Linked DNA regions of Homo sapiens: region 2 is linked to region 1. Evidence: promoter capture Hi-C in 16 types of primary human blood cells and fetal thymus (Javierre and others, 2016). All regions are on one chromosome and are shown on one strand. Each heading gives the region's core, a stretch centred on a gene start or on the middle of the fragment in contact. The rest is flanking DNA. Distances are from core to core; before and after follow the strand shown.

Region 1 (7,163 bases), core at 1,263-3,762:
CCAGAATTCAAATTCATTCTTTACTGCAATTTCTGTCCCACCTCTATGTTGCTCTATCACTTTGTAATAATTACCTGCCTCAAGTGAGACAGGTAGGCCTTATTCCTGGAAAAGGCCATATTCTACATTATTTGAATGTCTGCTTGTGCAAATGTATGCATATTATCAAAAACCTCTTGGTGTGATGGCCACCACTATGACAATTAATATACTTACTAATATACTTATGACAATTAATATAACATTTTCAATAGTACAGCTACTGAAAATATTCTGTGGTGTAGCGATTCAACTGAAATGGAATGAGTAAAGAACATGATAGACTATAATCTATAAAATCAGAGTTAGTTGTTAGTTTCAAAATAACAATGAAAACACGTGTTACTGAGCAAAATCAGCTGGGATTTCCAAAACTCTCACTAGTGTTATAGTTTTTTGTCTGGAAGTTCTAAACTGTCCTCTCATTTAAACATCAAAGTTTAAATATATAATACCTATTTTTGGAGGAGGCAAATCTATTACTTAAAAAAAGATACCATTTCTTCACTTATAAAGGAACATTTCCCCTAATGCCATTAATAATTAACATTTTTGTAATATCTAATATCTGGAGGTATAACCAGTAAACTATTTGATACATGGAATATTATGCAATTTGTCTTTTGAAAACAGTAATCAACAGAGGCGTTTAATATATATGAGACTTTTTATAGATTCTTTACATAGAAAAATATACACAATTCCTCAACATACATATGCCATATAATATGAGAAAAAAAAATTAATCTTGGGATCCCAAAATCACTAAGTAACGGAAAAGTCAAGCTGGGAACTATGTCACTAAACTTGCCTCCCATTTTATTCCTAAATAAGATACGTACAAAGATAAGAAGCTACATACGTTCCTCACAACGTGCCCACAAGGAAATTCCTTGTGGACAAAGGACAGACCCAACTCAAAGTTATCCCTGTGAGGCGCACAAGAGACAACTGCATATCTGATTGCTTCCTCTGCCTTATTATTTATTTATGTAAAAATACAGAGTTACTAGCCGGACTAAATTCTGTATTCAGTAGGAGGCTGATCAAGGACTCAAAAGCATGCAAACTCTTGTCTCTTATCTACATTTTTTTTTTTTTTTTTTTTTTTGAGACGGAGTTTTGCTCTTGTTGCCCAGGCTGGAATGCAATGGTGCCATCTCGGCTCACCGCAACCTCCGCCTCTTGGGTTCAAGCGATTCGCCTGCCTCAGTCTTCAGAGTAGCTGAGATTACAGGCATGCGCCACCATGCTCTGTTAATTTTGTATTTTTAGTAGAGACGGGGTTTTTCCATGTTGGTGACGCTGGTCTGAAACTCCCAACGTTAGGTCATCTGCCCGCCTCGGCCTCCCAAAGTGCTGGGATTACTGGCGTAAACCACAGCGCCCGACCTGTCTCTTATCTATTTCTAACATGGAAGCCCCCGCTTCGAGCTGTCCCTCTTACCTGACCGAACCAATCATGTTTCCCTAAAACGTACAAAAGCAAGCTGTGCCCTGACCACCTTGGGCAAATGTATCATGGGTAAGTCTTGCAAAATAAACTTTTTAAATTGACTAAGACCTCTCTCAGATATTTGGGGTTCAGAAATAAATTCTTTTACCTATTATTTATAATTTTGGTTACAATTGAGAAAGTAAGAAAAAAGTGGTGTTTTTTTCTTTTCTAAGGGTTACTGCATCTTGAAAGTGTGATGAAGGTCTTAATTATTGTTCTTATAATTCCTGTCCACAGAAGCTCCTACTCTTACTGAGACCTCACGGAATTATCATTATCACAATAGAAATAAACATTTTGGGTTTGTGGAGTAACTTTTTTTTTTTTTTTTTTTTTTGCTCATCGTTTGTTGTTTAGATAATATCATGAACTGATAAATGCAGTTGCCACGTTGATTCCCTAGGGCCTGGCTTACCGACTGAGGTCATAAGATATTATGCCTTCTCTTTAGACTTGGTCAGTGGAGAGGAAATGGGCAAAGAACCAGCCTATGGAGGTGACAAGGCCTTAGGGCCAAAAGTCTTGAGGGTGAAGGTTTAGGGCCTGCGCAGCTTCCCTGCCATGCCCCGCAAGGTCTCGCATTCGCAAGGCTTGTGACAGTGGGAGCCTCATTACGGACTCTCCTAAAGTCCATGGTGTCCTCTTTTCGCATTTGCGCCCCGTGGGTGATGCCCGATGCCGCCCTTCCCATCGCTCTCTTCCCCTTCAAGCGTATCGCAACTGCAAAAACACCCAGCACAGACACTCCATTTTCTATCTTAATGCATTTAACTAGCACAACCTACAGGTTGTTCCATCCCAGAGACTACCCTTTTCTCCATAGACGTGACCATCAACCAACCAGCGGTCAGAATCAGTCAGCCTCTGTCATGTTCCTAGGTCCTTGGCGAACTGGCTGGGCGGGGTCCCAGCAGCCTAGGAGTACAGTGGAGCAATGCCTGACGTAAGTCAACAAAGATCACGTGAGACGAATCAGTCGCCTAGATTGGCTACAACTAAGTGGTTGGGAGCGGGGAGGTCGCGGCGGCTGCGTGGGGTTCGCCCGTGACACAATTACAACTTTGTGCTGGTGCTGGCAAAGTTTGTGATTTTAAGAAATTCTGCTGTGCTCTCCAGCACTGCGAGCTTCTGCCTTCCCTGTAGTTTCCCAGATGTGATCCAGGTAGCCGAGTTCCGCTGCCCGTGCTTCGGTAGCTTAAGTCTTTGCCTCAGCTTTTTTCCTTGCAGCCGCTGAGGAGGCGATAAAATTGGCGTCACAGTCTCAAGCAGCGATTGAAGGCGTCTTTTCAACTACTCGATTAAGGTTGGGTATCGTCGTGGGACTTGGAAATTTGTTGTTTCCATGAAATCCTGCGCAGTGTCGCTCACTACCGCCGCTGTTGCCTTCGGTGATGAGGCAAAGAAAATGGCGGAAGGAAAAGCGAGCCGCGAGAGTGAAGAGGAGTCTGTTAGCCTGACAGTCGAGGAAAGGGAGGCGCTTGGTGGCATGGACAGGTACGCACCTCCATCACCCGCCTGGTTGGCTGGCGATACTCTCCGGGAAGGCCTGGACGCAGCTTGCCCACGTTGATGACGGGGTCATCCTCAGCTTGGCACTCACCAATCTGTCGCTGTCGCTCTTGGACTCGGGAAGGAGCAAGTCACTGGCTTTCTCAGACCATTAACAAGCTCTGTGTCTCTCTCTCTACAGCCGTCTCTTCGGGTTCGTGAGGCTTCATGAAGATGGCGCCAGAACGAAGACCCTACTAGGCAAGGTAAAAGCAACCAGACGCAAAGTCTTTGGTCCGCACTTTGCTCTACCAAGGCCCCGCGTTCCTTACCGCCCAGCCAGTATTTATTTTGGCTCTGCTCCATGGCCAAGGGGTCGGAAAAGTGTTTCTTGCCTTTGCTGTCCCCGTACTCTGGAATACTTCGCCCCTTGCTCCAGACTCCCTTCTACTCTGAGGAAAAAAAAAATCGGACGCTTTGGGACCGGGCTAAACCGGGTCTACACCACATGCCTGTTACTTTAGGGCCTTTTGTTCCTGAATTTTAGCGTCACAAATAGTGAATGTGTACAGTTTTCAAAATTCATAACTTCCTGCTTCTTCCCCTCGCCTTTTGGTATTTGGCTCTTGGTGTCTAATTTTAAACATTTTTTTGCCTTTTTAAAAAAAATATCCCTGGTGTCCTAAGTGTAAGTAGCAAGTAAGTTACAGCGGTGAAGAGTTTGCAGTAGATATTTGACCTATAAACTGATGCGTGTATGTTTAGCCTGAAGTTTAGTGATTTGTTGACTTTTTTAGGATGCACAGTGCTGCAAATGTGATTTCATGAATGTGTGTGCTTTTTCCATTCAGGAACCTTGTTTCTTAGGTGTCATGCTCACAGTGGGAAGAATTTGTTGTTTGTGTGAAAAGTTGGCACTGTCGTTTAGTTAATGGCTGCTCCTATCAGCCAAGATGGCGGGTAAAAAGGGGGAGGAGCAATAAAGGGGGAAGCTTGGGAAGAGGGTGGAGGTATTAACCCGGAAACCTTAGCAAGGAATAGACCGTAAAGAGCGCTGACGTAGCTTCATGTTGCTTATTAAAAATTATTATTATTTAAAAGTAGAATTCTTGCGTTATCTCCAACATTGACAGCAGCATTTTTAAACCTATATGTGCTTATTAATTGCAGCATGTTTAGTTACTCCCACGTGAATTGTTGCGTAACTTGGCCCTGGAATATTCCTGTGTGTATCGTTTTTTACCCTCTCACCAAAATCTTGTTAAAGTATTTGTATGTTGTCAATTGGTCCCGTGAAATAAGAACGGTACAACAATCGCGCCATCTTTTAGATGCTGAAGCCAGTAGTTAAGAATTTCAGTTTATTATTGTATTTGACAAGGAAATACTAATTATTTTCTCAGGATGAACATTTTACTTACCAAGACGTTTTACTTTGTAGTTTAATTCAGTACAGACGCTGAGTTCTTTTACCTATAATCTCCTTTGTATGTTTGTTTTGGGGGCAAATACTGATCAGAAAACTAAAATGTAATATATATATGTATGTATAATGTGTATATATATAGTTAGTAAATCCACTTTATTTGACTGATAAATGAAACATGAGTTAAACTTTGATTATGCAAGTGAAAATAGCTTTATGAAAAACATGTTATAGTATCAATGATACGATTTAAGCAACAGTGACTCGATCTGCCTTAATGTTTAAAATAGTTATGATAATGAAATAAAAGTAATTTGATGTTTTCTGGGATAATGTGGGAAAATACTGGTTGAGAACTTTAAATCTTCATATGCTGGAGTTAGGATAAATTCTCAGTGGGTTGTGGTTAACATTTTAGTTTGGAATGAACTTTTCAGATAGACAATATGGGGTTTAAATTTTAAGGAATTTTTTTTTCACATATTGATCCTTTCCAATTTTGATTACAGTAACATTTTAAATATGAGAAAGTGGTTTCATTATGTTTGGGGAGAACTGTAGCTTCATAAAACACTGAGTAATGCCGTATATTAAACTGCAGTGACTTTTTTGAAATGAAAAAAATATTAACTCAATTTCACTTCATTTGGCTCAGGATTCTGAAGGCTGGGAAGTCCAGGATCAAGGGGCTGCGTTTCATGAGGGCTTTAGTGCTGCATCATTCTTTGGAGAAGGTGGAAGGGCAAGAAAGTATATCACAGTGCAAGAGATGGGGGATGCCTAACTCTCTGTAATGAACCTATCCTCACTATGACATTAACCCATCCATGAGAGCAGCCTGCTTATGATGTTGTCAAATCTTAAAGACATCATTTCACAACACTGTTGCATTGAGGATTATGTTTTCAATGCATGAACTTTGGGGGACATATTCAAACCATAGTACCTGTTCTCCAAGACAAATTATTCTACAGTATGTATAATAAAGTATTTTTTCCCTTTCTCACAGAGCTTTGCATATATCACTGTTTTTTAAAAAAGTTCTTAGAATGATCTATTTCACTGATATTTCAGTTTTTATTCGTATTTATGTTTTCTATGAAAGTTTTATTTATAGATTTTACTAATGTCAGTATTGTTTTACAAGCTTCTAAAGGTTTAAAATATTGTTATAAATATGCTTTTTTCCCTGTCAAGTTTTCTGGACATTGAGGATGCTCTATCCCAACGACTAGTTTCTCTGATTTTTTTTTTTTTTGACCTCATACGTGAACCCGCATATCAAACCATTAGGATGGTTGTAACAATAGATTTCCTTAAAATTCTGTAACTTATGTTTTATAAGATTTTTATTAATTTTTATAAGATTGTCATCTGAATTAGTGTAAATACTTTTCAGCAAAAACTTTTTGGTTGAAGCTTAATAACTTGCTCGTATTTAAATAATACGCAGTTCAATTAAGTGAAAAACAGATTTTAGCAATAGTAACTTTTATTTCATGTTGGAAAACGTTTTAGGTTGATTTTGTTTGTATTATGATAGAGTTTCACTCTGTCAAATAGAATATTACTATTACAGTATGCCTTCAATATAATGCTAGAGGCATTAACAGGAGAAACGCCTATTAAAATGCTTTGAGTGGTTTTTTATACTGTAATATTTGAAAGGTGATATTTAAGATCTTGCGTTATATGCGTTTTGTTTGCTAACCTGTAACCTGTAGAACTTCATTTCCAGTTGTAAAAATAGTGTTTTGAGTTAAAAAAGCAACTATAGAAATAATGTCATGTTTTGTTATTTAGAATTAGGTCTTTAATTTGGTGTATCAGGAACAGTTTGGATGTTGTCTTCCAAACAATTAGAGTTGTTATTGTTTACGTATTACTGGACAAAGTATTAAGTAGGCATTATGTAAGAATGCTAATAGAAAATTTGGGTACAACGTTGGACATACATATCTGAAGCAATTATAGAAAATATTTTGATATCTAGGCACAGTTCCAAACTATGTGATAATAAATGGGCACTTTTCTGGTATTGGTTTACTTTACTTTTTTTTCCCCCGAGATGGAGTTTCACTCTTGTTGCCCTGGCTGGAGTGGAATAGTGCGGTCTCACCTCACTGCAACCTCTGTGTTCTGGGTTCAAGTGATTCTCCTGCCTCAGCCTCCCAAGTAGCTGGGATTACAGGTATCCACCACCATGCTTGGCTAATTTTTTGTATTTGTAGTAGAGACAGGGTTTCATCATGTTGGCCAGGCTGGTCTGGAACTCCTGACCTCAGGTGATCTGCTCTCCTCAGCCTCCCAAAGTGCTGGGATTACAGGAGTGAGCCACTGCATCCAGCCTACTTTTATTACTAACTAGCTAGCTTTTAAAAGAGTCAAATTGAAATAACTAGGGAACATTTGATATTATTTAAATTGCCAAATAAGATTGTTTTGCCTGTTTTGTCTGTGACTCAGGTGGCAAAATTTATTTATAGGCATAATGCTGTAAGCCAAAATTAAATTTTAGTGCTTTCCAACCACAGTATTATACATCTGTTCTGACATAGATTGATTTTTAGTTTTGAAGGTTATTTTTGCACTGCAACTTACTGTGATGCTAACGAATGATCCCATTTTAATGAGCTGTCTAGAGAGCTAATTTGTATTTTAAAGAATATAAGATTGTTTCATTCAACAAATTAAGACCTAAACCTACATATT
Region 2 (7,163 bases), core at 1,515-4,014, 1.9 Mb before region 1:
GAAATGTCAACCTATCAAAGTCTCTAGGATCATGCTTCTAATGTGTGTTCTTTGGTGGAACTATTTTACAAATCTGGGGCTATTGTCTCTGGGGCAGCTAGCCTCCCATCAGAGAACAGCCACCGTTCACTTTTAATATATTTCCCTGTTTCCTGACCAAACCAAAACTTTTCATCTAGAGTGTAGCTTGGGATCTCTGGGAGGGGAATCTCCAGGAGGAGAGGCATAGCTAAGTCTTTCTCTTTAGAACGTGGAGTTGTCATTGAAGCTTTCTTTGCCCTGTCTGCCTTTCTATTTTCTTTGGCCTTTAGTGTTCTTGCTTTTTGGTGCCCCTTTCAGTGCATCACTGCCACCTCTTTTGGGTCCCATACGGCATTTAAGAGCTGTAGAATTTCTTCCTTGTACTTTATTTCTTAGTTCCAGCTGTTAAAAATCTTTTATAACACTGGCTGATGCTTTTATCTCCATGTTGGAGCACCTCTGAGCTTTTTATATTGGTTGCCTTTTCTTTTACCATCATTTAGCCTTTGCAGAAGTACTTCTTGGCACTTTGTAGGTGTTGAAGCTGGACTGCATCATCTGGGTCCTAGTGGGGGTCCCCTTGTCCTCTTAAGAGACATGAGCATAACATTGGCATGGTCAGAACTGAGATGGCCTGACTTTTTGAAACTTTCACAACTTCCCGAGCTCTGATTTCTCCTTCTCAAGTGAGACTAGGAGCATGTATCTGTTTGAATTTAGCTCCTTAGGGGCAGTTAGCCTTGGTAAAGGGGGGTAGATTGGAATGTAGGGAGGAGGGGTCTCTGTTCCCTCCTATAGTTCTTGCAAAGCCGGTTTTCTCTTTCTTGAGACTTTTCTTTTGTCTCCGTAGCTTCCAGGGCAGCTGATTTTTACTTTCACTTTTGGCTCTGCGTGCTACAAGCCTCTGTGACTTTCCCTTTAACTCTGTAGTTGCCAGTGCAGCTGATTTCTCTCAACGTGAGCTGCGAGCATTCTACAATAAGCTGCTAGGCAATGCTGCATTCATTTAGCCATGAGTCTATATGAAGACTAGGTCTGAATGCCCTGGCTATCCTCCAACCCTAGTCACCACCTTAAAACACGACCAATTTCTCTGTAGTGCCTTCAGCCAGCCATCTGACATTGAAAGAAGGCTAGTCTAATTCACAGTATATCCTTAACTTTGGAACATCCAGTCTTATCCTATAATTATCTCTAAACGCTTTTTCAAAATTCTTTATCATGCACTCCAAAGGAGTTGGTTTTGACACTTGCTCTCCCATTTTCTCTCTTGCATCGCACTTTCACTGTCACTTTTACTCTCTGGTCCATCAGACCGGGTCCTATTATGGGAGTTTCAGATGCTGCTTAGCCAGGAACATGCATTCTCCTGTTAGAGCCTGCTGTGGCTGCAGATCTGGTCCTATCACCTGTATGCAATGTCCTAGGTCTGATTTTCCCACACTCACCTCAGAGCACACAGCCTGTGCTAAAGGACTTGTGCCTCCCCACATCATTGCCAATGTTGGCCTCTCCTGAGACCATCTCTTTAACATACTTTCACACACCTCCCCTGCCCCAGGACTCCTCACTGGGTGAAACAAGTCTCTTCTGTCCTGGTTGACTGCAGTTAGACTCCCACATTCACACAAATACACACACCACTCCTACCGCAGGACTCCTCATCAGACTAAATGAGCCTCTTTTGTGTCCTGGGCAGGTTCACATGCACCCACACACTCCCAGTTGGAGTAGCAAGCTACTCTTGCCACCCTGACAGCAAGCTCTGCCTTGCTGCACTTGCCACTCTATCGGCCCATTTTCTCCTTTTTTTCAGTTCCAATGAACCACTTTCATTTTGTTAGTGGGGACATGAGGTTCATCCAAGTTGGCAGGCCATTCCTGCTGTCCCCAGATGCTCTAGCTTTGATTAATTGTCAGTCCCCAACAGGTGATCAGGCTCCCCTTTGTCCCTATGGGATGGGCTTTGCTGCCTTGGGCTCTTACTCCTTACCATGGTTTATGAAGTGCTGGTATCATCCTGCAGCTCCATCCCTGGTTCCATTACACTAGTGGCCAGGGCACTGGGATCAGGGGAGAGCTGGTTTCCATCTGGGTGAAGCTCCCTCATGGCATGCCTTGGATGCTGGGTTTCCCCTGGCCCTGGGGCTCTAGTCCCACAGGCAAAGGAGACAGTAAATCTCCAATCCTGGATGAGCTCCCAGAAATGTGATGGTATTGGTAAGTAATCAGAGAGACCGATGGGGTTCAGGAGGAGGATATGTATTATTTAGTTGCACTGGCCCAGTCGGATTAACATCCAAAGGACTAAGCCCTGAACAAAGAGTTAAGTTACCTTTTAAGTATTTTGTGGGGCTGAGGGAGATCTGTACAGAGAGAAGCATATTACAGACGCAAGAAACAAATGCAGTTATTCAATTAATTGAGAGATGTATTACATGATTTCTTACTTTTCAACGAAAAACAAGTTTTGTGACTTGAGTTTATCTGTCTAGTGACCTTGCAGCTGCTCAGCTAGAGAAACAAGATATTCACCATGCTGGGAAAGTAGGAGTGATAAGGCTTACTAGCCACAGAAAAACAGGCAGTTAATTTTCAAAGGACTCTAGCTCTTTCTCTTTCTCAGGGGGGAATTGGGTTTTCTTACATATAACTGAGTTTTTGCTCACACATTCTTTAATTTCTGTTCCATTAGTACCTAGAAGTCAGTTTATTTTTTACTTTTATTATTATTTTTTGAGACAGAATCTCATTCTGTTGCACAGGCTAGAGTGCAATGGTGCAGTCTCAGCTCACTGCAACCTCTGCCTTCCAGGCTCAAGTGATTGTCCTGCCTCAGCTTCCCAAGTAGCTGGGACTACAGGTGTGCACCACCACACCTGGCTAATTTGTGTATTTTTAATAGAGATGGAGTTTTGCCATGTTGCCCAGGCTGGTCTCAAACTCCAGGGCTCAAGTGATCTACCTGCCTTGGCTTCCTAAAGTGCTGTGATTACAAGTGCAAGCCACTGTTCTTGACCCCTAGAAGCCAATTTAAACTTATTATTTCTAAGTCCCCTTCCTCAATGAGAATACATATGTACACAGAGTTGGATAGTTGGTCTAGGAAGGGTCTAGAAATGTAAATTTAACTGTATGCCTATCATGTTTTTGTTTTTTAAAAAAAAAAAACAAACAAACAAACAAAAAAAACACGTGGAGTTAGAAAGAAATTCACTGGGTAGCCTGGAAGAGAATATGCAACTCTGATACAGAGGGAGTAGCTCTGGATCCCTAGTTAGTCTTCAGTCAGCCTCCAAATCCTCCCCCAACCCTACATCAAAACCTGAATCCCCACCCCAATCCTGAGCGAAAGCCTGCCACTTCCAGCTTAATCTCTGTTGACTGTAAGGATGCAGAATTTGCAACTTTGAAGTCCTTTTATTCCACTCCCTTGTCCTTTTCTTGTCCCAGCTGGGTTACAAATGTCAAGGAGAAGTAGAGGGCCCAGTCCCACCTCCTGGGTTTGGAGTTATTTAGCCATGGGATGCACCATGATTTTCAAGTACAGTTGATTTTCCATAGAAGGAAGTAAAAAGAAAGTGCTTTGGAATACATTTTGAACTCCATTCACCATGCCGGTGATAAACATGGAAACTAACCATTTGTGTGGTGGTGCTCCGTGTCACATATTTTACACACAATCATCTTCCTTTCCCAGTCTTTTTTTTTTTTTTTTTTTTTCAGAGTTGGACGGCGCCTTGTATGCTGTGTACTGCCTGAGTATGACATGTCTGGTAATAAGAAGGGTTAAGAGGCTCCTTCCTTTGCCTTCACAGAAGTTCTGTGGCCCAGATGTGAGATCTTTAAAAGGTCAGTGTTTTTGAATAAGGAATAAAATTGTATTATAAGATAAAAGTTCATGGAATTATACAATAAAATACTAAATTAGTAAATGGCACTTCCTTAGGTCATGGTCACTGGTCACTGTTTTTGCATCCCATTCTTCTCGCCTTCAGGTAATATCCCCTCAGGTCTGAGAATGATCGCAACTCAGAGCCTGAGAAGAGCTGTGCATCACTCTCTTGGGGATGGCAGCAAAATGCTGAGCAATGTTGGGTCCTACAACGTGTCCTCCATGGATGCCAGGCTCTAGGCCTGTTCTGTTGACTGCTGGAGTCTCAACATTCAGAACACCAGCCCAACATGGCATGTGTATTGACAGAGAGACTTCGGGCAATTTTTATCTCCTTGAATGAATGTATACATGTTACGTGACAGAGCAGGGACTAGATGGAGCCAATATATTAGATCGCCTTCTTTCCACCCCTCATTTTCTACATACTGCAGCCAGGATGGGGATATAAAATGGAAAGGAAGAAGGCATATCATTTTGTATGTGCCCTGTGATCTTTAAATGTTATCAAATGTTGTTAATGAAATGCCATGATATAACTAACTATATGCTGGCACCACTTTCCTGTATACTTGCATTCTCTAATTATGTTCAAAGCAATGGTTGCCCAAAGGCTAAGGGTACGCTCTGACCTTTCTTCACCCATGAGGACTATGTTTTAACTTGTAATTTCACCTGCAGGGGCTCACAGTCCAGCGGCATTTAAGTGCAACTATACTTTACTCACAGTAACTAATAGAAAAGAGAGATTGTGGGGGTTTGGGCAGGGGATTTATAACCTCATATTTAAAAATATGAATTCCTGCTTATTTATGGGTTGAGCATTTTGGGCCCCCATTGTTTCACCAAATCTCAGGGTACCTGATTTTTATTCACAAAATCATGCATTAGTATCCACATTAGAATATAAACACAAGACCTAAGATAAATTTGTTTTGTAGTACTTTGATAGTTAGAACACATTTCCCCAGATAGAAATATTAAAACAAGAGGTTAGATACCCACTCCCATATTCACATAACCCTTACGCACCTGAGGAGCTCTCTCATTTCAGAATGTCCCTGACCATCTCTTATTTCTTATGGGAAAGTGTTTGGGTACCAGCTTGGAATCCCAGGAGTGTAATTCTCCGGGGCAGAGACTCTGCTGCTGGTGCCATTGAGTCCCTAGCCCTTTTTCATGCTCCACTTTCTGATGAGCTTACACACACAGGCATGGTGTACTGTGGCTGCTTAATATTGCTGTAGGACTTCCTGTGTCCTGAGTTCACCACTACACTTTAATTCTAAATATTTATAAGCTATTAAAGTTAGATTCAAAAACTTTTTTGTTCCCTAAGCTTTTTCTGTTTATTTCGCTGATAAATCTAGCAAATGTTGGCTGGGTGTGGTGGCTCATTCCTGTAATTGCAGCACTTTTGGAGGCTGAGGCAGATGGATCACCTGAGCCCAGGGGTTCAAGACAGCCTGGGCAACATGGTGAAATCCCATCTCAACTAAAAATACAAAAATTAGCTGCATCTGGTAGTACACATCTGTAATCCATGCTACTTGGGAGGCTGAGGCATGAGGATCACTTGAACCCAGGAGGCAGAGGTTGCAGTAACCCAAGATCATGCCACTGCACTCCAGCCTGGGTGACAGAGTGAGTCTGTCTGCAAAAACAAAAAATCTAGTAAACGTTAACAGTCACTGTTCATAAGTCATAACATTGTTTCAATCCCTTTACAAATTTATCATAAACTTCACCTTTATACTGTTTAATCACACTTATAAAACTAATATATTTTATGGCTTTGTTGAGTAGTTCAGTTGTCTGAATTAATGAATGAAACCCCTTTAAATAGTCATCATCTTAAGCACAATAAGTGAAGTTTATAAAAATGATGAACCAAAACTTCTTAATATTTCAACATCATGCTTATTGTCTTAAATTGTAAGTGTTAATAATTCAGGTATGTATTTAAATGATTATTTATAGAATTATTTTTCTCACAGGCTGAATTTAATTAAAGAGTACAAGTAATAAAATAATAAGTAACACAGAAAATGTATTCAGTGGTCTTGCCTTTCTTAAACATGTCTCTAAATGATTTGGTTGTTAGGAGACATTAAGGAAAACACTTCCCCTCCCAGGTACTTTACATTCCCATGCAGGTGATTGGATTTTTCATTTTTTTACATAAATCCAATAATCTTTGAACTTGACAAGAATCCTCCATTCTTACTAACTTCTTTCATTATACATCTCAGGTCAGGTACAGTCCCAGGTACAGCTGTTGAAAGAATATCTAATTGAATTCTGGATATCTTTCATGTAGTTTGTCCAACTGACTGACAGTGACAACTCATAAGGCCATATTACTGACATAGTTAGAACACTGAGCTAGCCTTAATTATGTATGTGCCGAGCCCCTAACTGTTCAAAGAAAAGGCGTTCTCTTACCAGCTGTCCTTCCCTGGTAATTGGACTTGTAGAATAAAAGGCAGTTGCTCTTTGAGAATGTGAATGAGCATTTCTGACTCCTCATCCTTCAGAGTCCCCACGTGTGGAAGGCTTGGTAACTTGAGCTGTGCCTGTGGTTAGCAAGCTATGCCTCCTTTTGCCAATATAACTCCCACTTTGCTACTTTGAGTACCAGAGGTACACTCTGCATAGCAGGAACCATACCCTATGCTTTTTGGCTCTTTTGAGAAACCCTAGGTAGAATTAGATAAGTAAAATCTGAGATACACAAATGAATTTATACATATGCAGATATGTATTCTTTAAAAAATGATTTTGATCCTTATTTCTTATGATTTTCTTCATCCCTTCACCATGTTAAGATACACCTTCCATTGACAAACTGCTCTTGCCTTTTATTTAAAACAAAATAAAACAAAACAAAACTGAGTAGATAAAGATGAGTAAGCCAGTGTCATAGGCTGAGTCATGTCCCCCTGAAATATATGTGGTGGAGACCTAACCCCAGGACCTCAGAATGTGATTATATTTGGAGATAGGTCTTTGAAGGGCTAAATGCAGTCCTAATCCAATGAGACTGCCATTCTTATAAGAGGCAGTTAGTACACAGACACACAACAGACAACCATGTGAGGACACAAGGGGAGGGCAGTGTCTGCCAGCAAAGGAGACAGGCCTTAGGAGAAACCAACCTTGCTGAATGACTCTGATATTAGACTTCCAGCCTCCAGAATTGCAAGAAAATCAATTTCTCTTATTTAAACCACCCAGTCTGTGGTAT

Evidence for each region. The method cuts DNA at HindIII sites, captures the fragments that hold promoters and counts their contacts. A CHiCAGO score of 5 or more calls a contact.
Region 2: a fragment that was not itself captured here is called in contact with the fragment with the promoter of UTY in region 1 in 1 of 17 cell types (fetal thymus); the score reaches 5.4 in fetal thymus.

Annotation. Positions count from the first base shown.
Region 1 is chrY:13,475,382-13,482,544 of GRCh38, reverse strand. UTY (ubiquitously transcribed tetratricopeptide repeat containing, Y-linked) reads left to right here and starts at 2,512. Exons shown (of 30, transcript NM_001258249.2): 1 at 2,512-3,031; 2 at 3,228-3,291. The coding sequence starts at 2,880. It overlaps MIR12120 (microRNA 12120), which reads right to left and starts at 3,368; the gene lies at 3,279-3,368. The HindIII fragment of the contact is 7,265 bases long and covers 1-4,019 here.
Region 2 is chrY:15,418,526-15,425,688 of GRCh38, reverse strand. No RefSeq gene overlaps it. Among named protein-coding and RNA genes, the nearest start is that of NLGN4Y-AS1, 620 kb to the right of the region's middle. The HindIII fragment of the contact is 4,987 bases long and covers 271-5,257 here.